Linked DNA regions of Homo sapiens: all the other regions are linked to region 4. The links are contacts of gene promoters, found by promoter capture Hi-C in blood cells and fetal thymus (Javierre and others, 2016). All regions are on one chromosome and are shown on one strand. The core of a region is centred on a gene start or on the middle of the fragment in contact, and the rest is flanking DNA. Distances in the headings are between cores, read along the strand shown.

Region 1 (4,797 bases), core at 867-3,366, 580 kb after region 4:
GGAGTAATGTGTTATGATTGTGTGTGTGTGTGTGTGTGTGTGTGTGTTCTTTATTTTAAACACCACACTGTTTTCTCTGAGGAGAATGGAAAACTAACTTCAAGAATGAGTTTTTTTTTTTTTTAATAAGAGAACAACAGTGCATCAGTAATTTGTTTTATGTTGCAGTTCCTAAACTCTTTTACATGCATCGTTTTAAATAATCCCACAAACCTGATACGAATTGCACATAAGTTAGACATGGGCTACAGTCTATTCATAAAGAAGCTTATTGGAGAAGGTGAGTAAATTGCCTATGATCACTTGTTACATTCAAAACTAGAACTTATAAGCCCTGAATATCTACCATAGCAAGATGTACTCACTTGTGCCTCAAAATGTCCCCATCAATATTTTTTAAAGAGGATATCATAAAAGATTATTGGTAAGTCATTGAATGCCACCTTAATAACTCTTTGAAATACTTCAAAGGGAATAAATATTTTACATCGTTGCTTGATTGAATATTAGCACTGTTCAGGTTTTCAAATTTTTGTAAATTTAATGAAAATCTACCAAAGTCTATCTTTTAATACTCTATTAAAATCAATTCTAATAGGACTCATACATGGAGTGCAACTAAATATACAAAAATCATGCATTCATATAAATTATTGATATATAATATTCGATATAGCAGATTATTTAAACAAAATAAACTTAAGGATTAAGTTTTTTTATTATGAAAATATAAATGGATAAATCAACAGGTAATGTCAACAAAAGGAAGAAATAATGGGGAAAATAAAGTATAGAATACATATTAAGAAAAATGAATATAAACTAAAAACAGAAAAAGATGGAAAGAGGAATTGCATGATGAACATTTCTCTGAGAGAACCCTTGATGCTTTCTTAGTGGTGTGGCCATCTGCCCAAGTAGCTGTGCACCATTGATTTCTTACTATTGCTTTAAATCATGACCTCTAATTCAACTTTCAAGACTATAAACATAGTAATGTCCATCAACCCTATTGCTGCCTTGTTCTGTAGGCCAGTTTGTAGAATGAAAAACCCTGATCACACCATTTGCAATGCCCAAACATGGTCAGGGGTTTAGGGGTTGGGGGAGAAAGTGAACAGTTCACCACCTTCATGACCTTCTCACTGACTTGGCTTATCAACTCTGGTCAATGTTTTCATACACCTTTTCCCTCTCTCCCCTCTGTCCCCAGAAGCATAAAGTGACTAGAAATCATTTTGCAGTGACATTTAACCCTTCTTTCCCAAAGCATGCTTGTGTCATAAGGCCAAAACTTACACATAACTGACGCAATGTTCTGGTCATTGGGCAGCACTTACTACTCTCAACTCTCCTAAGAAAGGAGAGAGTTCTTGACAGTGTTGACTACAGGAGAGTTGCAAGGTAGAAAAACATAAACAATGTTCTAGCTTATTATGACATTTGCTTTTACACTTAAGCTATACCAAATATGGCTCCTGACTGGATATAGAATGGAACACATTTTTAAAAACACCTATTTGGCATATTTCAACAAAATATGTGCCCAAAATCCTAACCCCGTAAGCATCTGTGGTTTCAGAGACATTGTATACTTCCATGCAGTATAATCACTCACTAAATAGAGGCATTCTTTTAGATAAAGCTTCCATTTTTAGAAAAAAGAAAATTGTGCCAATTTTTATTTGCCAGTAGTTTTCAAATTCATTATTAAAGCAAATGAAAATGAACATTTTTGTTTTTACAGTTTTCTGTTATATGCATTGTTGTTTTTCCAAAGAGCTTCTCTCCTTTAAATGGTTATAATAAACACTATTTTAGAAATTATAAATTGTTCTACTCTGAATTGCGATGGCTTATAGATTTCTTTTTCATTCTTTTGGGCTAATAAATGTTTGCATTAAAATATAAATGTTTATTCTTTGACTCATGAAAAAATAATAAGGCATAGGTATGAAGAATATATATTTGTTATTTGGTCTTCATAATGGCATATAAGATTTAATCAACTGGATAATAAACATTATAAAGCAATATTCATGTCGAGAAGACAATACTTTCAATGAAGCATAAAGTCATGTACCTACTCTTCAGTTGTTATAATCCAGATATATGGGATGGGACAATTAACAATAAAACATCTTCATGGCATGCCCAAGCACTTGATAGGGACTTCACTGGAGCTATCTTCAATCTTTGCATATGCAGAGCCTCGTTCAGCAACTGACATGTTGTGATTATTAATGTTGGTTGAATGAGCAAGTGAATGTTCTAAACATTTAGAAGTAATAAAGTCATGAGCTTGGATATCCTTGCCTCATGTAGACCTAGTTGGGAATACGTAAGGGATTTGAAAGATGAGGTCATACTATGACTCTGCTCCTCTGGGAAATACATAATACTAAAGTAGCAAATGACATTTTTTAGAAGGTATTAAAGTTATCTCTGCTGAGATTATGCCATTATGCTTAAAATTAGGAAGAGTAATAAATATAATTGAATGAGCATCTATTACATGCTAGGCATTTTACTAAGAATTCACGTAAACTGTCTAACTGAATCTGTACAACATTCCATCTTAAATCTCATAAGCTTAAAATCTCAGAAACTTAAATAACTGGCCAAAGGGTGACAACTAACAAAGTTCCCAATCTAAACCAAGTTTCATTTGATTTCAAAGCCTCTAACGCTTCTATCCATTCTTTACTTCTGTCTAGTACTTCTGTTTTGTACCACTTTAAATGCCAAATAAAACACCAATATCTACTTTACAAAGCCAGGTCATATATCAATGCACAGCAAGGAGATATTATGTAGAATTAATTAACTAAATCTTTAGAGAGAGTGGGACACTGTCTTCAGACTTACGTAGTTAGGTAATGCATTGTCCATGACAAAAGGGACAAAACTGGCTTTAAGACAGTGACAAATAACTATGAGTCATCCTAGGTTTCAGGCTCCATTTATCCTCTCTTCAACTCTGCTCAATATTCACAAAAGTTGCTATTGGGTAATTTAAATTGAAAAAGACCAAGTAGACAGGGGAGCACTTCCTGGAATGAGAGACCATGTCTGTTTTTAAATACTTCTACCCTATTCATAAATATTGTACCATTATTTTAGAAAAATTATTTGAAATACATAAAAAGCAAATGTCACACATATTCTTACTATCCATTGGTAACACATTTTAAAATACACAATTCTTTTTTATTATAATTTGCGATTCAACTCTACTCTGAAAAAAAGTCATGAATGTCGATCCTTGAAACAGAGCTTCTTGGCCTTTGAAATTCAAGTTCAGGAATAATTTTGAGAATATAAGCATATAAAATAGAACAGGGCCTAAACACAGACATTAGGCAAATATAACTAAAGTAAGTGGCTCTTGATGACATTTTATATTCCTAATTATTGATAAGATGACATGATCTGTAATTAACTGTTGGCTAGTTTCATTATTATTTAAATTAATAATTTAAACATAGCATTACATTCATTTTTGCTATATAACCATGTACTAAATTAATAAATGCTGTATTGTAATTTCAAAAAATTATGACCAGCTCTATGATTACTTTAAATTAAATTAATTGGTTGGTCATTATAAATTACTTCAACAGAATAACTTTGGAATCAGCAGAGGTCTAACATAACTTGCTTTTATTCCACAGCTTTGTTTTTGCTAGAAATCTAGTACTTCCTCTGCTGTCTTGATGATTAACATCCAAACCACTTAAAAGATCAGTCTTCAGGCATAAGGCACATTAAACCTTCTACTTTAGTTTTCTGAATCAATTTAAATGCCTGAGAATATAATCAAATATGAATTTGTTTATTTTGGACCATATTGTCACCAATATAAAAATTTTAATATACATTAAATTAGAAAAAGCATGGACCTGTTTGAGTCTTTACAGACTGATTCAATAGATTTCGTGTAACTTTTAAAGTTAATATGAAAACTGTTATCTCCATGGAAAGATTTTATGAAGCTCAAGATCTGGTGATCAAGGATGGAGAGGATTTAGACACATCCATGAGTATTTGAGATTCATTCAACTGTAAGTCTTTCCTAGTGTCAAAAATCTTTGCCAAATTAAATTTAAAAGTTTAATTGAACAAAGAAAATTTGTGAATTGGGCAGCCTCCCAAGCCAGAGTAGGTTCAGAGGGACTCCGGTGCAGCCACATGGTGGAAGAAGATTTATAGATGGAAAAACGAAAGTGAGGTACAGAAAAGAGGTGAGACACAGAAACAGCAGGATTGATTACAGCTTGGCATTTGCCTTATTTGAACATGGTTTAAACAGTTGGTCCACTTTGGCCATAACTCAGTGATTGACACAAGAGTAGGTTACAGTCCATTTACACTTTCATTTAGGTTATAGTTTACCTATGTAAACCTTCAGGCTAAACTTAAAATATGTAAGGAGGTAGTTTCAGGCTAAACTTGATTTAATACCGGGTAATAGAGCAACAGAATGTCCATCTCTCTTTTTCTTTTGGTCCAGTGAAATTCCAGTGTTCTTATATGCCAATAAACCATGACATACTGCCTTCTTAAAAGGCTGTTACCATTGTAAATTGTAGGCTCTTTATCATATAACAGGAGTAAGGAGATTTACCAGATAGTATCTTAAAAGACTAACTTTCACTTTAATGAATTAGATTTGAATACTGACAAGTGACTCAGGAGAAATGCAGCAACATTTAGATGAGAACTTCTCAGACTTAAATGGGCTTCAGAGTCAACTACAGGACTTGTTAAGCTCACATTTCTGGGCCTCTCCCAGAC
Region 2 (4,546 bases), core at 692-3,191, 680 kb after region 4:
TTTGCAAACTTTTTTCTCCATTCTATTGATTGCCTTTTCATTTTGCATATTTTTTCTTTTTCTGTGCAGAATCTTCTTAGTTTGATACAGCCCCATTTGATATTGTTGCTTTTGTTATGTGGACTGTTGTCACATTCAAAAAATCATTGTCAAGACCAGTGTCGAGGAGCTTGTGGAGGAAATTTTCCCTTATGTTTTCTTTTAAGAGTTTTATGACTTCAGGTCTTACATTTAAATCTTTAATCAATTTCGGGTTAATTTTTGAGAGTAGTATAACTTAGGAGTCCAAATTCATTCTTTTGCTTGTGAATATTCAGTTTTCCCAACATTTATGTACCCCATAAATATATACACCTATATGTACCCACAAAAATTAAAGCTTAAATTTAAAAACATTTATTGAAGAGAATATCCTTTCTTCATTGTATATTCTTCTCCAATATTACTTGACCATATATACATGGGTTTATTTCAGGTCACTTAATTCTGTTCCACTGGTAAATGTATCAGTTGTTATGTCAGTACCGTATTATTTTGATTACTATAGTTTTGTAATATAGTTTTAATCAGGAAGTGTGATGCTGTTGGCTTTATTCTTTCTCAAGATTGCTTTGGCTATTTGAAGTCTTTCGTGCTTCTATACAAATTCTAGAATTGTTTTTTCTATTTCCTTAAAAAAAATGCCATTGGAATATTTTTAGGGATTGCATTTAATAGATTGCTTTGGAGGCATGGATATTTAATATTATTAATTCTTCTAATCCATTAACGTAGAATAGGCTTCTGTTTATTTTGTTTTCAACTTTTTTTTATCAGTGTCTTATAATTTTTAGTATATCAGCTTTATAAAGTCTATAACCTCCGTGGTTAAATTGATTTCTCAGTATTTTATTGTTTTCTAACCTATTGTATCTGGGATTGTTTTCTTGATTTCATATTCAGGTAACTCAGTGTATAAAAATGCTACTGATTTTTGTATTTTTTTTATTCCTCCAACTTTACTAGATTCATGTATTCTCACAGTTTTTTGGTGAAGTTTTTAGGGTTATCTATAAATAACACAGTGTCATTGGTAAACAGACAATTTTGCTTCTTCCCTTCGGATTTGCATATTTCTTTTTTCTTGCCTAATTGCTCTTGCTAGGGCTTCTAGAACAATCATGAATAGAAACTGAGAGTGGGCATCTTTGTCTTACTCTTTACTTAGAGAAAATGCTTTCCTCATTTTACTAGTGAGCATGATATTAACTAGAGATTACATATATATATATAGCCTTTATTATGTTGAAGTAAATTTCTTCATACCTAGTATGTTGAGAGTTGTTATGAAACAATGTTGAATTTTGTCAGCTGCTTTTTCTTCATATATTGTGATGATCAGATTATCCTTCATTGTGTTAATGTAGTATGGCACATTTATTGATTTGCATATATTGAATTATCCTTGCATCCCAGGGATAAATCCCACTTGATTATGGTGTACTGTCTAATGGTCATCATTAAATTTGGTTTGACATTATTTTTTGAGAAGTTTTACACCTAAGTTTATCAGTAATATTGACTTTTAATCTCATTTCTTTTAGTGTACTAATCTGATTTTGGAGTCAGGGTAACACTGGCCATATAAAATAAGCTTGGGAGCATTCCCTTCTCTTGAATTTTTTTGAAAGAGTTTGAGAGTTGACATTAAATCTTCTTTAAATGTGTAATAGAACACACAAGGGAAGCCATCTGGTCCTAGGTTTTTATTCCTGGGGATATTTTTGAATACTGAATCAATATGTTGTTATTGATCTATTCATATTTTGTATTTCTTCAGTGTTGGTAGGTTGCATGTTGCTAGGAATCTATTTCTGTTAGGTTATACAACTTATGGGGAGTATAATTATTCATTTCTTATGATTCTTTGTATTTCTGTATTATCAGTTGTGATGTCTTCTCTTTTATATACAATTCTGTTTATGTGAGTATTTTCTCTTTTTTCTTGATTAGTCTAGCTAAAGGTTTGTATTTTTGTTTATCTTTTCAACAAACCAGTCTTAGTTTTGTCAATTTTTTCTGTTGCTTTCCTATTCTCCATTTTATTTATTTCTACTCTAATCTTTACTACAGCCTGTCTTCTGCCAGCCTGAGTTTAGTTTATTCTTCTTTTTCTAGATTTTTAATGTGTAAAGACAGGTTGTTTATTTGAGTTTTTAAAAATCGTGTAGGCTAATAAGCCTCCCTCTTCTGACTATTTTTGCCATCTCATAAGCTTAGGTATGTTGTATTTACATTTTAATTTATCTCAATATATTGTTATTACTCTTTTGGTTTCTTCTTTGATCCGTTGGTTGTTTAGAAGTTATATAATTTTCTACGTATTTGTGACTTTTACTAAATGCCTCTTATTGCTGATTTCCTATTTCATACCATTGTGCCCAGAACATATGCTTAATATTAGCTCAATCTTCTTGAATTTGTTAAGACTTGTTTTTGCAGAATGTTTCGTGTTCACTTAAGAAGAATGTATATTCTGCTTCTGTTGGGTGAAATTTTCTGTATATGTCTGTTAGGTCTATTTGATCTACAGTGTTGTTCAAATCTGCTGTTTCCTTGATTTTGTGCCTGGATGGATGTTCTATCCATTGTTGAGAGTAGGGTGTGGAGATTCTCTACTGTTGTTGCATTGCTATTTATTTCTCCTTCATTTCTGTTAGTATTTATTTTACATATTTAGGCATTCTGATGTTGAGTGCATCAATATCTGTAATTTTTATATCTTCTTGATGAATTGACCCTTTTATCATTATAAAATACCTTTCTTTGTATCATGACAATTTTTGACTTAATGTCTTTTTTTATCTAATGTTAAGTATGACCACCTCTGTTCTCTTTTGGTTACTGTTTGTATGCAATATCTCTCTCTACCCCTTCACTTTTAGCTTATGTGTGCCCTTAAAGCTAAAGTGAGTTTCTTGTAGGCAGAATATCATTTGGTTTTTCTTTTATTCATTTAGCTACTCCATGTCTTTAGAGAACTTAATACATTTATATGTAAAGTAATTATTAATAGGCAGGGACTTACTAATGCCATTTTGTTAATTGTTTTCTAACTATTTAATACATCATTTTTTCCTTTCTTTCTCTCTTGCTATCTTCTGTAATTTGGTGAATTTTTCATGGTGGTTCCAAATCAACTTTGCAAGTGAAGAACAAAGTTAAAGAAGTAATACTACACGCTGTGATGTCAGGCGTTATTATACAGTTTTGATAATTAAAAGAATGTGGTATTAGCATAAAGATAGAAAAAGAAATGAAAGAAAATAGAGTCCATAAATATTCTCACTAATATTTGGACAACTGATTTTTCACAAAATTGGATAACAAATGGAAAATGAATAGCCTTTTCAGTGAACCATCTGGAATAATTGATGTCCATATGTTAAAATGTAAAAAGAACTGCATTACCTATGTGCCACCATATACAAAAAATAATTCAAAGTAGGTTGTATACCTACATATAAAACACAAATCTCTAAAACTTCTAGAATAAAATATACAATAAACTATCTTTGATCTTTATGCAAAGATCTTTAACTATAACAAAGTATGATTCTTAAAGAAAAATTTAATATATTAAACTTTATCAAAATAAAATATTTCTCCTCTTCGAAAGACACTGTTAATAAAATTGAAAGCCAAGCTACTTTCTGGGAGAAAATATTTCCAAATTCTATATCTCTTGAAGGACTTTTATACAGAATATATAAAGAACTCTCCACATTAAATAAGTAAGCAATCATACACTGCTTTTAGTAATATAAATATAAAATGGTACAATCAGTCATTTTGAAAAACAAATTGGCAGTTTTATTAAAAATTTTTACATAAACTATTATATAATCCAGGCATTACATTTCTAGGTTTTTACTCAAGAAAAATGAAAGCACGTGTCCATAAAAACACTTGTACATGAATACTTATTGAAGCTTTATGTGTAATGATTAAAATGTAGGAATATCCTAAATATTCATCAACAGGCAAATAGATAATCCAACTATAGCATATCCATACAATGGAATACTATTTAGTAGTAAAAATGAACGAACTACAATGGCAGAGATGAATCTCAAAATAATTATGCTGGGGCTTTGAAGAAAAAAATATAATTATGCTGAACGAAAAAATTTCAAAAAAAGTTGCAGGGTGATTAATATGTTTATTATCTTTATCATTTTGGTGATTTTATGGGTGTACACACCTACTTAAAATAGTACACCTTAAAGATCTCAAAAAATTGTAATATTTGCCCATTATTGCTCATTAAAACTGTTCAAAAATCATGGCTCTGGATTTGATAGGACTAAGACCCTGCCAGATGACCTCACCTGGCCATAGTACCTATAGTAACTACCTGTAGACAGTAAAGAGTAGAACAATAAAATATAAATCTGGCAGGAACTTCACCCCATAATCTTTCTATCCTGTGAAACAGAAACATGAAACAGGGAAAAATTATGAATGCTAAGAAAGAGAAAAGGAGATGCTAAAAAAGGAGAAATCT
Region 3 (4,453 bases), core at 1,305-3,804, 700 kb after region 4:
ACAATGTGCAGGTTTCTTACATACGTATACCTGTGCCATGTTGGTGTGCTACACCCATTAACTCGTCATTTAGCATTAGATATATCTCCTAAGGCTATCCCTCCCCCCTCCCCCCACCCCACAACCGTCCCTGGAGTGTGATGTTCCCCTTCCCGTGTCCATGTGTTCTCACTGTTCAATTCCCACCTATGAGTGAGAACATGCGGTGTTTGGTTCTTTGTCCTTGCGATAGTTTGCTGAGAATGATGGTTTCCGGTTTCATGCATGTCCCTACAAAGGACATGAACTCTTCCTTTTTTATGGCTGCATAGTATTCCATGGTGTATATGTGCCACATTTCCTTAATCCAGTCTATCGTTGTTGGACATTTGGGTTGGTTCCAAGTCTTTGCTGTTGTGAATAGTGCCGCAATAAACATACGTGTGCATGCGTCTTCATAGCAGCATCATTTATAATCCTTTGGGTAATACCCAGTAATGGGATGGCTGGGTCAAATGGTATTTCTAGTTCTAGATCCCTGAGGAATCGCCACACTGACTTCCACAATGGTTGAACTAGTTTACAGTCCCTTCAACAGTGTCAAAGTGTTCCTATTTCTCCACATCCTCTCCAGCACCTGTTGTTTCCTGACTTCTTAATGATCGCCATTCTAACTGGTGTGAGATGGTATCTCATTGTGGTTTTGATTTGCATTTCTCTGATGGCCAGTGATGATGAGCATTTTTTCATGTGTCTGTTGGCTGCATAAATGTCTTCTTTTGAGAAGTGTCTGTTCATATCCTTCACCCACTTTTTGATGGGGTTGTTTGTTTTTTTCTTGTAAATTTCTTTGAGTTCATTGTAGATTCTGGATATTAGCCCTTTGTCAGATGAGTAGGTTGCAAAAATTTTCTCCCATTTTGTAGGTTGCCCATTCACTCTGATGGTAGTTTCTTTTGCTGTGCAGAAGCTCTTTAGTTTAATCAGATCCCATTTGTCAATTTTGGCTTTTGTTGCCATTGCTTTTGGTGTTTTAGACATGAAGTCCTTGCCCATGCCTATGTCCTGAATGGTAATGCCTAGGTTTTCTTCTAGGGTTGTTACGGTTTTAGGTCTAACGTTTAAGTCTTTAATCCATCTTGAATTAATTTTTGTATAAGGTGTAAGGAAGGGATCCAGTTTCAGCTTTGTACATATGGCACGCCAGTTTTCCCAGCACCGTTTATTAAATAGGGAATCCTTTCCCCATTGCTTGTTTTTGTCAGGTTTGTCAAAGATCAGATGGTTGCAGATATGTGGCATTATTTCTGAGGGCTCTGTTCTGTTCCGTTGATCTATATCTCTGTTTTGGTACCAGTAGCATGCTGTTTTGGTTACTGTAGCCTTGTAGCATAGTTCGAAGTCAGGTCGCGTGATGCCTCCAGCTTTGTTCTTTTGGCTTAGGATTGACTTGGCAATGTGGGCTCTCTTTTGGTTCCATGGGAACTTTAAAGTAGTTTTTTCCAATTCTGTGAAGAAAGTCATTGGTAGCTTGATGGGGATGGCATTGAATCTATAAATTACCTTGGACAGTATGGCCATTTTCACGATATTGATTCTTCCTACCCATGAGCATGGAATGTTCTTCCATTTGTTTGTATCCTCTTTTATTTCCTTGAGCAGTGGTTTGTAGTTCTCCTTGAAGAGGTCCTTCACATCCCTTGTAAGTTGGATTCCTAGGTATTTTATTCTCTTTGAAGCAATTGTGAATGGGAGTTCACTCATGATTTGGCTCTCTGTTTGTCTGTTACTGGTGTATATGAATGCTTGTGATTTTTGCACATTGATTTTGTATCCTGAGACTTTGCTGAAGTTGCTTATCAGCTTAAGGAGATTTTGGGCTGAGACAATGGGGTTTTCTAGATGTACAATTATGTCATCTGCAAACAGGGACAATTTGACTTCCTCTTTTCCTAATTGAATACCCTTTATTTCCTTCTCCTGCCTAATTGCCCTGGCCAGAACTTCCAACACTATGTTGAATAGGAGTGGTGAGAGAGGGCATTGCTGTCTTGTGCCAGTTTTCAAAGGGAATGCTTCCAGTTTTTGCCCATTCAGTATGATATTGGCTGTGGGTTTGTCATAGACAGCTCTTATTATTTTGAGATATGTCCCATCAATACCTAATTTATTGAGAGTTTTTAGCATGAAGGGTTGTTGAATTTTGTCAAAGGCCTTTTCTGCATCTATTGAGATAATCATATGGTTTTTGTCTTTGGTTCTGTTTATCTGCTGGATTACATTTATTGATTTGCGTATGTTGAACCAGCCTTGCATCCCAGGGATGAAGCCCACTTGATCATGGTGGATAAGTGTTTTGATGTGCTGCTGGATTCGGTTTGCCAGTATTTTATTGAGGATTTTTGCATCAATGTTCATCAAGAATATTGGTTTAAAATTCTCTTTTTTTGTTGTGTCTCTGCCAGGCTTTGGTATCAGGATGATGTTGGCCTCATCAAATGAGTTAGGGAGGATTCCCTCTTTTTCTATTGATTGGAATAGTTTCAGAAGGAATGGTACCAGCTCCTCCTTGTACCTCTGGTAGAATTCGGCTGTGAATCCATCTGGTCCTGGACTTTTTTTGGTTGGTTAGCTATTGATTATTGCCACAATTTCAGATCCTGTTATTGGTCTATTCAGAGATTCAACTTCTTCCTGGTTTAGTCTTGGGAGGGTGTATGTGTCGAGGAATTTATCCATTTCTTCTGGATTTTCTAGTTTATTTGCGTAGAGGTGTTTGTAGTATTCTCTGATGGTAGTTTGTATTTCTGTGGGATCGGTGGTGATATCCCCTTTATCATTTTTTATTGCATCTGTTTGATTCTTCTCTCTTTTCTTCTTTATTAGTCTTGCTAGCGGTCTATCGATTTTGTTGATCTTTTCAAAAAACCAGTTCCTGGATTCATTAATTTTTTGAAGGATTTTTTATGTCTCTATTTCCTTCAGTTCTGCTCTGATTTTAGTTATTTCTTGCCTTCTGCTAGCTTTTGAATGTATTTGCTCTTGCTTTTCAGTTCTTTTAATTGTGATGTTAGGGTGTCAATTTTGGATCTTTCCTGCTTTCTCTTGTGGGCATTTAGTGCTATAAATTTCCCTCTACACACTGCTTTGAATGCGTCCCAGAGTTTCTGGTATGTTGTGTCTTTGTTCTCGTTGGTTTCAAAGAACATCTTTATTTCTGCCTTCATTTCATTATGTACTCAGTAGTCATTCAGGAGCAGGTTGTTCAGTTTCCATGTAGTTGAGCGGTTTTGAGTGAGTTTCTTAGTCCTGAGTTCTAGTTTGATTGCACTGTGGTCTGAGAGACAGTTTGTTATAATTTCTGTTCTTTTACATTTGCTGAGGAGTGCTTTGCTTCCAACTATGTGGTCAATTTTGGAATAGGTGTGGTGTGGTGCTGAAAAAAATGTATATTCTGTTGATTTGGGGTGGAGAGTTCTGTAGATGTCTATTAGGTCCGCTTGGTGCAGAGCTGAGTTCAATTCCTGGGTATCCTTGTTAACTTTCTGTCTCGTTGATCTGTCTAATGTTGACAGTGGGGTGTTAAAGTCTCCCATTATTAATGTGTGGGAGTCTAAGTCTCTTTGTAGGTCACTAAGGACTTGCTTTATGAATCTGGGTGCTCCTGTATTGGGTGCATATATATTTAGGATAGTTAGCTCTTCTTGTTGAATTGATCCCTTTACCATTATGTAATGGCCTTCTTTGTCTCTTTTGATCTTTGTTGGTTTAAAGTCTGTTTTATCAGAGACTAGGATTGCAACCCCTGCCTTTTTTTGTTTTCCATTTGCTTGGTAGATCTTCCTCCATCCCTTTATTTTGAGCCTATGTGTGTCTCTGCACGTGAGATGGGTTTCCTGAATACAGCACACTGATGGGTCTTGACTCTTGATCCAGTTTGCCAGTCTGTGTCTTTTAATTGGAGCATTTAGCCCATTTACATTTAAAGTTAATATTGTTATGTGTGTATTTGGTCCTGTCATCATGATGTGACCTGGTTATTTTGCTCGTTAGTTGATGCAGTTTCTTCCTAGCCTTGATGGTCTTTACATTTTGGCATGTTTTTGCAGTGGCTGGTACCGGTTGTTCCTTTCCATGTTTAGTGCTTCCTTCAGGATCTCTTTTAGGGCAGGCCTGGTGGTGACAAAATCTCTCAGCATTTGCTTGTCTGTAAAGTATTTTAATTCTCCTTCACTTATGAAACTTAGTTTGGCTGGATATGAAATTCTGGGTTGAAAATTCTTTTCTTTAAGAATGTTGAATATTGGCCCTCAGTCTCTTCTGGCTTGTAGAGTTTCTGCCAAGAGATCTGCTGTTAGTCTCATGGGCTTCCCTTTGTGGTAACCCGATCTTTCTCTCTGGCTGCCCTTAACATTTTTTCCTTCATTTCAGCTTTGGTGAATCTGACAATTATGTGTCTTGGAGTTGCTCTTCT
Region 4 (4,534 bases), core at 1,863-4,362:
ACTCCAAAGCTTCAGTTCCCTCATCAATAAAATGAGGCTTCATATCCACCTCTCACTGTTTTGGTCAGGAGACAAAAAAAGAATGTAGCTAATAAAATTTATCCATCAGGATCTCAACTTACAACAGAGCATGCATGCAAAATAGGAAAATTCCAGGAGATTTTTAGGAAGCTATATACAAAAGAACAGAGGCAGAGAAAACAAAAGGAATAAAACATGTGAGGGGAGAGTTGCTATAACCCAACAGGAGACAAAAAGTCAGACACAGTTATTCGCCTTTAAAAGAACAGTGACTTTTTGCTGAAGGAGCCAAGGAAATAAATACTCCAGCCTCACTCTCTTTTCTCCCTCTGGTCTCCAACCAAGCCTCAAGCCAGAGGACATCAGAGCCCACTTGATTTAGCTCTTGTAGATCAACCTCAAGGGAAGGTGGAAGGGTGCAGGATAGAGAAGATATCTAAAGGAGCAAAAGGAAGCTCACCACCACATAAAAATTGTTCCTAATTATTGAGTGTTTTCTGTGTAACAGACACAAATACCTTATATGTGTCGACTCATTTAAACCAAATAATCTTATAAGGCAAATATTATTATTTTCCCATTTTAGAGATGAGGAACATGAGGCTGGCTGTGTGTAGTTAAGTAACTTCCTGAAAGTCTCAGAACTAAGGATGAAAGCAGGAATTGAATCAAGGTAATGTGTACTATAGCCTGTTATTGTCAAAGATCAGTAAGTGGTAGTAATTGGTTTCATAATTATCGTCACTACATAAAAGCTATTTAATCCCAACCAATTATATTTCCAGGGTTTTATCTCAATTATAATACTGCGAATGCATAATAAAGTATGTTCAATATGCTATTTGTAACACTGTATTGGCAAAATATACACAAAATTTAAATGCCTAGTGTTGGGGCTCAGAAACCAATACCACAAAATGTGACACTTTGACATGCTGAAATGAAGAAGGCTTAAGTTTTCTTTGACCTTCCTTCACCAATCCTCTCTTTCCCAAAGCACAGAATGAAGGTATTCTCTGAAGTTCCCTTATCTGCCTAAAGTCTCGACTTGCCAAAGAAGAAAACAGTTACCTCTGGTCTCTTCCCTGACTTTCCACAAACTGAACTCATATTGCAGAAAGAAAGACTGAAGTCTGTCAACACACACGGAGAGCTCTGCAGGCTTAACATACTTTGTCTCAGGCCACTGTATGTTCTTCAAACACATTGAATTCCCCTAAAAATCATTTTCTAACCCCCCAAATCACCCATACATCACCCATCTGCCTTTCCTCTAATAAGGAGGTACAACCCTCTGTACCTCATTGGGATATTGGCCAATCACTCTGTGATTCTCCCCCATGCCCGCTGATAAATTTGTATGCCATTTGTCCTGTTAATCTGCCTTTTGTGACTTGATTTTTCAGTGAAACTTCAGAGGGTAGAGGGGAAGTTTTCCCTTGGCCCCTACACTATGAACTGAGATAGACAAAATAAATTAGTATGTTTATAAAGTGGAATACCATATGGTCAGTAAAAACCGGTAGCTCTATGAGTACTGTGTGTTGATACACAGACACACACACACACACACACACACACACACACACACACACACACACGGGGGGGGATTCGAAAAGGTTATATGTTACATTTTCTGTTAAAAATTTAAAATAACTACATTACCTATATTCTTGTTGACAAAATTTGAGTGCCTGGAAAAATACATAAGAAACTGGTAACGTAATTGCCTTTGGGGAAAGCAACTGGGTGGCAGGGTGAAATGGAGATAATTTTTTATTGCACACATTTTGTACTTTTAATTTTTTTACCATGGTCATGTAATAACCTATTAAAAACATAATTTAATTAAGGAAAAAAATCTAATTTTGCATTATTATTGACCTTCCAGGGATTCATGTAATTTGAGAAATTGAATGAAAACAATTTTACATGCATGAAATTCAGCTTTCTTACTCTATACATCCTGAGTGATTTGCCTTTTTCAGTAACAGAATCCTTTGCTATACCAGCTTGTTAAATGAATGCCAAATCAAGAGTAAAATTTCCATCTGTATTCCATAGTGTTTTAGCCATGCTGCAAAAGCAAAACCTGTAGGTAAAACAAAGAAAATTATCACCTTGAAGCTAGGTAACAGGTAACCCAGAAGTCCGGCCAAGCATAAAATTACAGCCACAAACAGCCCTGCAGAGAACATCTCAGGACGGCGGCTGCTGGGTTTTTGTTGTTGTTTTCATCTTTCTTGGCCAAAGGAAGCAGGTGTTAAGAGAGCTCAACCACAGCTCCTGAACTCTGAGATTTACAGAGCTCTGTCACCTGGGGTAATACTGCCATTCTTCCAGGTTTTCTTCCTGTCCAAGAAATCTGACATGCTGTTTTTCATGGTATTTTCAAACTGGAAGATCGAGACAGAAACTTTGGTCGTCAGGAATGCAGAGATTGCCCAATGAAATGACAGAATTGATCATTAGGATGCTTGTTACTCAAAAAGCCCATTTTTTAAAGAAGGATGTATTAAAATTATTCCAGCATGCTAATGTGGCACACTCCTCTGCTGCCTAACGGCAGGTGTTGCTATTAGCAGAGGAAGCCTTGTTCTAAGAATTATTCTAGAGGGCCAGAAAGAACAGGTATTGCTCCACCCGAGTAAACGCTGACTCAACTCTGCAGGGCTGGCGCGCTCTTTCCTCACCTCACCCCTCCTGCCAGGCACAACTGAGATCCAGAAATAAGAGGATTAGCGAGAGAAGGGGAAATATGCAGGACGGTAGTGATGGGTATGCACAAAGGAGTGCCAAGCAGTTTTAACCGTTAATGTTCTTCGTCTATTGCTAGAGAAAATGTCTTTCCTTGGAGGAGGCATTGGCACGAGTTACTATAAACTCCCTCTGAATCTCAAGACTTCTGGGACGCCGATTCCGCTCCTGGCCTGGGGCAAGGCGTGGGAGCTTGGAAGCCAGCGCTGCGCTCCCCGTGGGAAGCGATCGTCTCCTCTGTCAACTCGCGCCTGGGCACTTAGCCCCTCCCGTTTCAGGGCGCCGCCTCCCCGGATGGCAAACACTATAAAGTGGCGGCGAATAAGGTTCCTCCTGCTGCTCTCGGTTTAGTCCAAGATCAGCGATATCACGCGTCCCCCGGAGCATCGCGTGCAGGAGCCATGGCGCGGGAGCTATACCACGAAGAGTTCGCCCGGGCGGGCAAGCAGGCGGGGCTGCAGGTCTGGAGGATTGAGAAGCTGGAGCTGGTGCCCGTGCCCCAGAGCGCTCACGGCGACTTCTACGTCGGGGATGCCTACCTGGTGCTGCACACGGCCAAGACGAGCCGAGGCTTCACCTACCACCTGCACTTCTGGCTCGGTAAGGGACGGCGGGCGGCGGGACCCCGACGCACCAAGGCCGGCGAGGGGAGGGCGTAGGGGTCTGAGATTTGCAGGCGTGGGAGTAAAGGGGACCGCAAACTGAGCTAGCCACTCGCGCCCCCACGGGGCTGCCCTTTGGGGCCGGCCACTTTCTCCCTACCGAAGTCAACTCGCCGGCTGCAAACGCGGGGCTCAGGCGTTGTCCGCAATTGACTTACCTCGCAGGCTTTGACCTTTGCCAGGTGTAGTTCCTGGACTTTGGAGCTGGTGACTGGCTTCTTCCCCTTTCACCGTCAAGTATCCAAACGCCACTCTTGTCCAGGGCCGCTGCCTCAGCGCACACCGTCTCTGGCCAAGCCCCGCTCACCTTCCGACAAACTCAGTCCTGCTTTCCCTGTCGGGATGGAGAGGAAGTCATAAAGTCTGGGGGCATCTGCCGCCGCTAGGAAGAAGTCCTTTTCTTTTTCTTCACACATTATTTTTATTTGTTGCTTTCGGGCACTGGCTTATTTTCTCTATGATTGCGGGAATTATTGTTCTGGGCTTCTTTAAAACAGGATTCTACCCGCACCATGCTGCTTGTGGGTCTGGTAGACAAAAACTCCGCTTCATTCGGAAGCTGGCGTCCTCAGATAGAAGTAAGAAAAAAATACAGATATTTTATATACAAATAAATAGCTCTATATGGGTATTTCATATATTTATGTAGACTGCTTTATTGTTATTATTTATTATTTATTTTAGCAAGGACACAAGATGGAACAGAAACGGCTCCTTCAGCAGTAGTAATTATTTTGAGCTGCGTTCGTGCCAGGCTGTCAGGACACTGGGCCTTGTGTGTTCTTTTTCCACCTTCTACTTTTACTCATAAACATCCTGAATGTCCAGCCTCTCCCCAGGAGGTCTTGTGCCAGTGGGCACACCCTGTCTAACAACATGCCGATTCTCTGAGCCTTTTTGCCTTCTTTTAAAACTAGCTAGCCTGCCCAGTACTCGTGTTTGTTTAGTTTTATCCCTGAGCTTAGGAGGAAAACACACAAAACCACACACACTTACACATTTTTGAGTCCCTGAAAGCCAACACTGTAATTTCCAACATTTGAAGATTTTAAGAAACAAAATAATAGAAAACATTGAGTAGTGACTGTCTAAAC
Region 5 (4,769 bases), core at 2,247-4,746, 720 kb after region 4:
CTTATTCTTTCTATATTTTTGTACCCATTAACCAATCCAGCAATGCCAGCACAGGGTATACATACAAAAGAAAGTGTATCAATACATTGAAGAGATATCTGCACTTCCACGTTTATTGTAGCACTATTTAAAATAGCCAGGACATGGAATCAACCTAAATGTTCATCAATGAATGGATGGATAAAGAAAATGTATGTTTGTGTGTTTGTGTGTGTGTGTGTGTGTGTGTGTGTATATATATACACATATATATCTCACAACTTACTGTCATAGATGGATATGAAATTTACTTAAAAAGGAAATTATGCATATATATATATGTATACACACACACACACTCACACACACACAAACCCCAAAATATTCTGCCATAAAAAACAAAACCCTGTCATTTGCAACATGTATGGAACTGGGGGACATTACATTGTGTGAAATAAGCCAGACACAGAAAGACAAATGTTGTTTGTGTGTTCTCACTCATATGGGGAAGCTAAAAAAAATGATCCCATGGAGGTAGTGAATAGAATGGTTGTTACTGGGAAAGACAGTGGGGAGGAGGATAAGAAGGAGTTGGTTAATGGGTACAAAAGTACTATCTATGCATACATATATATGTGTGTGCTCATAGTTCACCAGTAAGTGAAATGTTTAAAGAGCTAGATATAGGAAAAAAACAGGCAGGCATATTTAATAGTAATTTCATAGCAAGTTACCCTCAATAGTGCTTTAACATATTTAAGTGTTTATCTTTCCATAATTAAACCATTTCAACATATCCTGATTGCTACTGTCTGAATCATTTGCCTAAATGATGATGTCAGCACTTTATTTAACCACCTTCAATGCCTCCTCACTTATTTTCCAATAAATCCATATTCCATAACTCAAACATTTAGGTTCTTCTTAAGTTTATATTAACCTATATGACCAGCCTTACACTTTCCCAGTACAAATCTTCTGGGAAACTCAAGGTAGCATATCCACAGTTGCAGAACATGACATGCTTTCTTGCTTACTCTGTGCTTATGCTCATATAGTTTTTTCTGCCAGGAGTTCTTTTGCCATCCTCACCTTGGCATTTGGAGTTTTATCCATTTGGCCACCCACAAATGAAGTGACTACTAGCAAAATAACTACTTAATTTACCCCCAGATGATCCTTCACAATTCTGCTGTTTTTGTCAGAAAATCCCAAATGAAGGAGTCTCTGAGCCTACTCTGGCTTAGGAGGCTGCTCTCCCCCCACAAAATAAATCCTCAAACGATACCTTAATTGTCTTAATTTATGTAACTCAGTTTATATGTGGTACCAAAGAGCTTTTTAGAGAATGATACGTAAAAGTTTGAAAAAGAAAAAAATTGGCTGTCCCAAAGCCATAGTCTTTTATTATTTGTGAATACATTTTAGGAGTTTCTTTTATGAATGACATTAGGCCTAGAACTACATAGTATGTGTGCATGCATGCATGTGCACACGCACACATTTGTGTGTGCTTTGTTACATATGTTGGACAAGTATCTCCTAATATTAAATTTTGGAACAAAAATCCTATGTAAAACATCATTAGTAGAAAATAAATATCTTCAGATTGTCTACCCTAACATTTAAAAGATATGCTCAATGATTATTACCACTGTCCTTACTATCCATAATCAACTGGATCCCTACATACCCTGCTTCAGCCATCAGGATTTTCATATCCTACAAAATCTAAGTGTTCTTCCTGGCTGTTGGATCCATGCTCTACTCGTTTAGTGGGGAAGCTCTGGCCATATTGAATGTTAAAGTACCTGAAGGCAGTGAACTCTCCATCACTAAAATTCAAAAACAGTCTTTGGCCGGACACGGTGGCTCACGCCTGTAATCCCAGCATTTTGGGAGGCCAAGGCGGGTGGATCACGAGGTGAGGAGATCAAGACCATCCTGGCTAACATAGTGAAACCTCGTCTCTACTAAAAATACAAAAACAAAAAATTAGCCGGTCGTGGTGGCAGGCACCTGTAGTCCCAGCTACTTGGGAAGCTGAGACGGGAGAACGGCGTGAACTCGGGAGGCAGAACTGGCAGTGAGTTGAGATTGCGCCACTGCACTCCAGCCTGGACGACAGAGCGAGACTCCATCTCAAAAAAAAAAAAAAAAGAAAACCAACAACAAAACAGTCTTTTGTTTCCTAGTAGTTCTATAAAATTAGCTTTTCTTATAACAGTGGCTAAAATGTAGAATTATGAGGAAAATACTGCAAAAGTGAGAGATTCTTGGCCACCTGACAATCAACTTAATTTTGGTGATAAACAAGAGCAGTGGGTCTGGGGGAAATCACCAAAAAAAGACTGTTGCATTGAATCAGTGGCATTCTCATTTCCCCTATGTATAAGAAGCCTCCAATAATCAAGTAACTAGAGATTTTGGTCTATATCAGCACCATCTTTTTGCTAATGAGTTATAATTCTTCTTTCATAATACAAATATTAATTGAGGATCTGTTTGAACTAATTGCTAGACATTAAAGATATTAACATAAAATATTATTTGTGTAGTCCTTGATTTTTAGTCACTAACATTTCAGGGTTGTGTATGTAATTTATATCATTTTTATGATGCCCTAATAATTGGATACATGGAGGCAAGAATTTTCTCTCTCTCTCTCTTTTTTTTTTCGCTCCCAACACGTTTACTGGTGCCTGACGCATGGAAAGCCTTTGATGTGTGTTTATTGAATTGAATTGAGTGGATTCAATGTCTGTTTAACAGGGGGATTAAAATGTTTAAAGAAACAAACTGCTATCTATTGAAATATGTTTCTACAAATCTCTGTCAGTTTTCCATATCTTTGTTAGTGCAACCATAGAGATAGTACTAAAAAGTAGCAGAATTTAATTTTAATTATCATCTTCATATTATAACTAAATCTCTGTCTGTGTGAATATTTTCTTTTGAGGCTAAATTGTGTGTTTATTCTTTTTAAATATATCAGCTCCTAGTATTTGGCCAACTCTTTAATCTGGTTTATTGAAGCTTACTTTATTCCGTATGTGCATTTTCATAAAGACAAAGTAATCACCACTAAGGCACATTTCCTGGTTGACTACTTCAGAGATGCTTGGGGCAGCATGTACACTGAAGTAAAGTGTTTCTCAGAATATGAACATTGTATTTCAAATCAGTTTCCAGCTGTTTTATTGTTTTCTTGTTCATAGCCACATAAGGGAAAGTGAATAATACTGAACCAATTATGAAATCATGTGTCACTCTGCTAGTGATGAAAAATGGGCTAGACACAGAATGTCATCAACTTCCCTAAGTACAGACATTCCATCAACCTTAGAAACTGAGTGAGTATTTCTAGGCAGCCAGACTTGCTTAATGGCTGTCAGGTGTCCACTGAAAATTTGGTACTCCCTTAGGGGATTGGTAATAATCCATCAAGGTTTAAGCTGGCATACCTTTCAACATGCATAGATCATTTGGCAACATCTTCAGCCTGGTACACTATCAGTTGTATATTCAGTGGATTACAATGATTAAGCAAGGCTTTACTTCTGGACTTTATGGGTTGTTGTTTTTTTGGTTTTTTTTTTGTTTTTTTTTTGCACTCATCAAATTTTTTCATAGTGGAACAATTAAAAGAATAAGCAAATGGTTACAGCAGGAACAAAATTATATCATACTCATATGGATAAAAGCCTATAGATACTTAAAATAAAAACACCATCAAAAAGCCTCTATCCCCAGCATAAAAGACAAAAAGATGTCTTTGGAAATGTCTGTGGTATCTAAACTTTAAACTACATTTTAATCCTCATATATCTCTCTGGAAGTCAGAATGCCTTCTTTTTTCCATTTATATCTGGGGGAAAAGAAATGGAGGATTTCAGTTATCAAGGTGAGTAGTAGCAATAGGGAAAGAATTTCAGATCTGGTAACACATGTAATTGTATTTTTAAAATGAAGATAGTGAAATAAACAATGTTTGCAGAAAAGCTTATTCTAATGTGCACATATGCAATAAATATTTGTTGAAAAGCTTATGACAAAATTTGAATTCTGCCTTGATTGTATCTAATCGGTCTGTTTTGTAATTCTTTGTTGCGTATAATCTAAAATTGTAAACCTAAATAGAAAAAATTATCACAGTGACAAACCTATGCAAACATGTAATTTATTAGCAAATCAGTAGTATACATAATAGCAGTTCCTTGAATACATATTATTGTGTTTCAGGCTCTATAACTACTGTCATTATATTTTATATTATTAATTCTCACAATATCTTATGAAATGGATACTGTTTTTATCCCTGTATTTTATGGAAGGAAACTGAGGTTCAGAGGATATAAGTAATTTGCCCAAGTTGTAAAGCCATCTGAGTAAAGATGGATTTTGGACCGCGGTCATGTAAGTTCAGAGGCTCTGCTACATTCTTAAAATATATAAAACATAATTCTACCTTTCTATTTATGTGGAGACACAAAAATTGATGACTGTAAAACAAGTATACATAATCAATTTCTTTTCTTTGAAATAGGGTTAGTATCTATACTAAATTTATGAAGTTTTGCAACTATGATTAAAAAGTGTGTTATTGTTTTTATTTCATACACTCACTTAATAAGTAGTTATTGAATGGAAAGCAATGTAACAAATGTTAGAGAAACACTGATGAAGTAAGCATAGCCCAACAGTCATGAAATCTGATGGGAAGGCAGACAAAAACACAAATTTATATAAGTATTTTACAGAAAAAGATCTTTGAGATAGTGTGGCACTTG
Region 6 (4,249 bases), core at 1,139-3,638, 660 kb after region 4:
TATGCTCGGTTGACCTTAGGAGAAAGTAGTGATTAAATTATCATGTTTCTTCTATTTAAATTCATTATTTTGTTCTGCTGTCATGTTTGTATTTATGCTTCCAGACTTTCATTTACCATACCAGTTCAAACAATATTTTATAATATTCATTATCTCTGTTTCTATGTTAACACTTTCTACCACTGACACTCCCAGTTTTCCCCAAACCAAAATTTTTACTTCATTATGTACAAAATTCAGCTGCCTTTATTCCCCGCTGGTAGGATTTTTTATGTGATCTGGGAAGTGAACCATACTGAAGACATATCTAAGGATGGTGAATGAGAGGGAAAAAGCCACCCGACTCATCTTAATTATCCAAATTTCCTTTAGAAACTGGGGAGGCAGAGTGGAAAAACCCTGGAAAATAAAATTGTTAAGTCCTAGTGAAATCAACTGGGAAACATTATTTAACTTATTTGCATCATTTTTCTGGCATGTAAAATGACTAAAATAACGCTTAATTTGCAGTTATTGAGATTAGGTGATATGCCACATGTAAAGTACCAATCAGAGCATTCAAACATTCCTAAGTCATCTAATTTGTATTTCTTGCCTTCACTAGCTTTGGAGGCCTTATCCTAGTTCAAATGATATCTCATTAAAAACTGAAATATGAATCTTGTCATATGTTTTGTACAAGGTTCCTCTAGATGTGAAAGCATCTTGAGGGTAGAAACAGTACATCATTTTGTATACAGTACAATATGTTGTGTGTGGTAGGTGTAAAATAAATGTTTGTTTAGCTGAGTTAGTTGTATTGTTTATACATTCAAGAACATAAAAAGTGTACAGTATATATGTAGTAGAAACCAGTAAGCCTTTCTTAATACTTAAGCAGAAACTATTCATTCTTTTGCACTTAATGTGTACTAAAGAATTATCCAGCTAGGACAATCGTTTGGTTTAACCGTGTCAACCAATTACCTTGTGTAAAGGAACTGAGCAATGTAATTGTTCTTTATATATGTATTATATGTATAATCAATGAATGTGTAGTTATTTACTGACTGTCCCTTTTGTTTGTTTTGTTACATACTCCTATAGTGCTGTACTTTCTCTAACATACCCTGCACTCTGGACTCTCAACTTCATGAGGCAGAGGCTTTGCCTACACATTTTTTTAAATTGAATTCCAGTGTACTAACTATCCCTTGAACTTTGATTAATATGCCAATTAGAATAATCTACAAAAGCTTTAATCATTTTTTACCAAGCCTTGACTTTGTTACCATGTAATACTGGAATGTACAATCCTTTAATACTACTAAATTAAATATTTATATAAAAATTTTCTTAAATATGGACATTTCCTTATATTTTCAGTAGTCCGTAAGTCAGCAATTTCCCAATTGGGCTGATGAAAAATATTTTATTAAAAAATAATAGATTATAAATTTAAAAGGAAAAATAAATCTCTTTTATTTTTTATTTATTTTGTTATTTTTTTTTGGGACGGAGTCTTGCTCCATTGCCAGGCTGGAGTGCAGTGGCACGATCTCAGCTCACTGCAACCTCCACCTCCCGGGTTCAAGCAATTCCCCGCCTCAGCCTCCCGAGTAGCTGGGACTACAGGCATGCAACATCATGCCCGGCTAATTTTTTGTATTTTAGTAGAGATGGTGTTTCACCATGTTGGCCAGGATGGTCTCAGTCTCCTGAACTCGTGATCTGCCCGCCTCAGCCTCCCAAAGTGTTGGGATTACAGGCATGAGCCCCCGAGCCCGGCCAAGCCCTTTTTTATATTTAAGAAAATATTTTCTTTACTTGGACCAATGAAGATTAGTGTTTTTTACTTTTCTATGTTAATGTTTAATTGGCTTTATTTGAGTATAGAAAAGTCATGTTCTTATTGCTGACATCATTTTAAATAAAGAAAAATATGGATATTTAAAAAAGTCTTCCAAAATCCAGCTACAGAGGAGACAGGCACTGTTAACATTTTGGTGAATTCTGTTCCTTGATAGACCTTTGCCATCTGACTCCATTGCCCATTTATCTTGCTGAGGGACATGAAAGATGGTAACAGCAATTCTGCTATCCAAGCCACCATCAAACAGCCGCTCACCATTTTGTAGACACCCCTGCATTTTCAGAATCATTTTCTTGGATCCCCATTTTACCCTTTAATTTGGGTACCCATAGATGCAATTTCTCAGCATAATACTACTGCACTTCTTATAAGTTGGGGTTCTCTGACTACTGCCCTCATTCTTCTCCTTTTCTTCCTGACCATCCTCTTCTGGGAATGGAGAGGAGGTTAAGTGGTGGCTAGTGGTTGTGAGGTCAGTTTTGAGTAGTTTCCTTCCAATTATTGACAGTTCAATTTGGGCTATTGGGTTCTAAGTATCTCATTGCCTTATATTTTGAGACATAGTAAAAACAATAAGGCACCAAAGAAAAGCCTTCTCAATGTCTTATGAAAATGGGATTACAAAATTTCTAGATGAAAGTGTGATGTATTTATGTATTCATTTTTCTTTCCACTGTGAAATGTGATTAGCTAGGGCTTTTTTTCTCCTATGCCTCTTATTCATTTCAGAGGTCCAATTTGTTATTATCCAAGAATTATTTCCTCATTACTTTTAATTTTTTATAATAAATAAATATAAACCTTTTAACATTTTAATTATATTCATATCGATATTTGGACTTAATTTTTCAGCCTTTTTTTTCACAAACGTTCCTATTATATTTTATTTATGAAAGTCTCTCATGGGTATTCTCTCTTTACGTCTTGCTTTATTTCTTTTCAATATTTTAAATATTTGTTAGATACCTGAGAGTTACTTTCTCTAACAAGTACTTGTCATATGAAGAAGATTGCCTTCTAATTTTTTACTATTGCTCTCCTTCAAAAAAATGATAGCATAGTTGTTACTGCATCCTCCTTGTCCATAGAAAGTGACTGAAGACCTATTTCAAGATGTGGTACATAGGAAAAAGAAAGTCCTTAAAAATCCTCATGGTTTATGTATTACTTAATTAACTCATTCATGCTTTTCAATTCATTCAAAACGTACTTCCTGAGTGTCCACTGTTTACCAAATAGATGAAAGTTCTCTTTGATGACAGGGAACATGTATATAGTAGAAATAAATCAAAATTCAAAATCATTGCTATAATTTAGATTCCAGAACTCAATCTTACTGAATGATATACTATCCAGTTACATAATTAAGCAGCCATAAGATGTTATAGTATAATCCTCCTTTAACAGAATAATGTAATCATTTGTTTATTTTCATTGCTCTTCAAAAAAAAATTTAGGCAGAGAGAAAAACTAAAATGTGTTTTTTTAAGTTATTTCATTTATTTTTTACATAATTTTTCTTTATTTGTATAAATACTTCTTAAATAACAGATCTGTTATAAGAAAATTTAAAAATAAATTGTGCAAAGAGGAAAAAAACTATCCACACAGGTGCTAGGCTGGCTTGAACTCAATTTTAATACCATCTGGGAAAATGAGATCAGGGACCAAGGGAAAAAAAAAAAAAAGAAAGCTTTTTCTTTTTCCTTTTTGAACAGCCTGGGAGAGGATTTAGGTCAATATGTAAATGTTTGTGTACGTGAATAGGAAGCACTATGAGCTGGTTCAGAACATCAAGCTGCATCAGAGATTGAAGAAATTATAATTACATAGTATAAGACTGTTGCATGGAAAAGGGAAAATGTGATGATATCAGATGTTATTTGTTTTTTTTTTTTTTACACAATTTAGTAGCATCCTAGCAGTTATTTTATCAAGAACATACTTTTTCCATTCACATATTTGTTTCAAGATTTTTTCCCTTATATCCAGTCACCTAATGCTAAATAGGACCACAAATTGATTCTGTCTGCAAATATTTTTTTATCTGCTAGTATATTTAGTGATTGATTAGATGTGATTAATTCTAAGCAGCAAAAATTTAAAGTATTTTCCTAGTATTAAAAAGAGAAATAAGTGCCTGTTGCTTGTAATTTTTATCCTTAGCATACTGAAAAGTAATTTGTGTAGCAGAAGATAATGTTTGTACTGTTTGGCACACAGTGCTAAAAAATAAGTGCTTCTTGCCTTGGGTTATCCCCTGGGTACTGGTCTGAGGTATTTTTAGAGTGAATGGACGCATCTATGTGGAAATTCTTGCTTACCCCTGACACAGTCTTAAAGCAGATTCTCACATAAATAGAACAAAATTAATGACTACATGCAAAGCCCCTTAGA

The links. The method cuts DNA at HindIII sites, captures the fragments that hold promoters and counts their contacts. A CHiCAGO score of 5 or more calls a contact.
Region 1: a contact is called between a fragment that was not itself captured here and the fragment with the promoter of SCIN in region 4, in 1 of 17 cell types (total B cells). The highest score is 5.1, in total B cells.
Region 2: a fragment that was not itself captured here is called in contact with the fragment with the promoter of SCIN in region 4 in 9 of 17 cell types (naive B cells, total B cells, total CD8 T cells and 6 more); the score reaches 9.3 in naive B cells.
Region 3: a fragment that was not itself captured here is called in contact with the fragment with the promoter of SCIN in region 4 in 11 of 17 cell types (total B cells, naive B cells, non-activated CD4 T cells and 8 more); the score reaches 10.6 in total B cells.
Region 5: a fragment that was not itself captured here is called in contact with the fragment with the promoter of SCIN in region 4 in 5 of 17 cell types (non-activated CD4 T cells, naive CD4 T cells, total CD8 T cells and 2 more); the score reaches 7.7 in non-activated CD4 T cells.
Region 6: a contact is called between a fragment that was not itself captured here and the fragment with the promoter of SCIN in region 4, in 2 of 17 cell types (total CD8 T cells and total B cells). The highest score is 5.6, in total CD8 T cells.

Annotation. Positions count from the first base shown.
Region 1 is chr7:13,149,230-13,154,026 of GRCh38, forward strand. No RefSeq gene overlaps it. Among named protein-coding and RNA genes, the nearest start is that of ARL4A, 460 kb to the left of the region's middle. The HindIII fragment of the contact is 947 bases long and covers 1,644-2,590 here.
Region 2 is chr7:13,249,296-13,253,841 of GRCh38, forward strand. No RefSeq gene overlaps it. Among named protein-coding and RNA genes, the nearest start is that of ARL4A, 560 kb to the left of the region's middle. The HindIII fragment of the contact is 621 bases long and covers 1,632-2,252 here.
Region 3 is chr7:13,268,730-13,273,182 of GRCh38, forward strand. No RefSeq gene overlaps it. Among named protein-coding and RNA genes, the nearest start is that of ARL4A, 580 kb to the left of the region's middle. The HindIII fragment of the contact is 8,784 bases long and covers 1-4,453 here.
Region 4 is chr7:12,567,608-12,572,141 of GRCh38, forward strand. SCIN (scinderin) reads left to right here and starts at 3,113. Exons shown (of 16, transcript NM_001112706.3): 1 at 3,113-3,378. The coding sequence starts at 3,180. It overlaps LOC107986768, which reads right to left. Exons shown (of 3, transcript XR_007060635.1): 3 at 1-3,774. The HindIII fragment of the contact is 5,456 bases long and covers 8-4,534 here.
Region 5 is chr7:13,287,926-13,292,694 of GRCh38, forward strand. No RefSeq gene overlaps it. Among named protein-coding and RNA genes, the nearest start is that of ARL4A, 600 kb to the left of the region's middle. The HindIII fragment of the contact is 966 bases long and covers 3,014-3,979 here.
Region 6 is chr7:13,232,048-13,236,296 of GRCh38, forward strand. No RefSeq gene overlaps it. Among named protein-coding and RNA genes, the nearest start is that of ARL4A, 550 kb to the left of the region's middle. The HindIII fragment of the contact is 2,310 bases long and covers 1,234-3,543 here.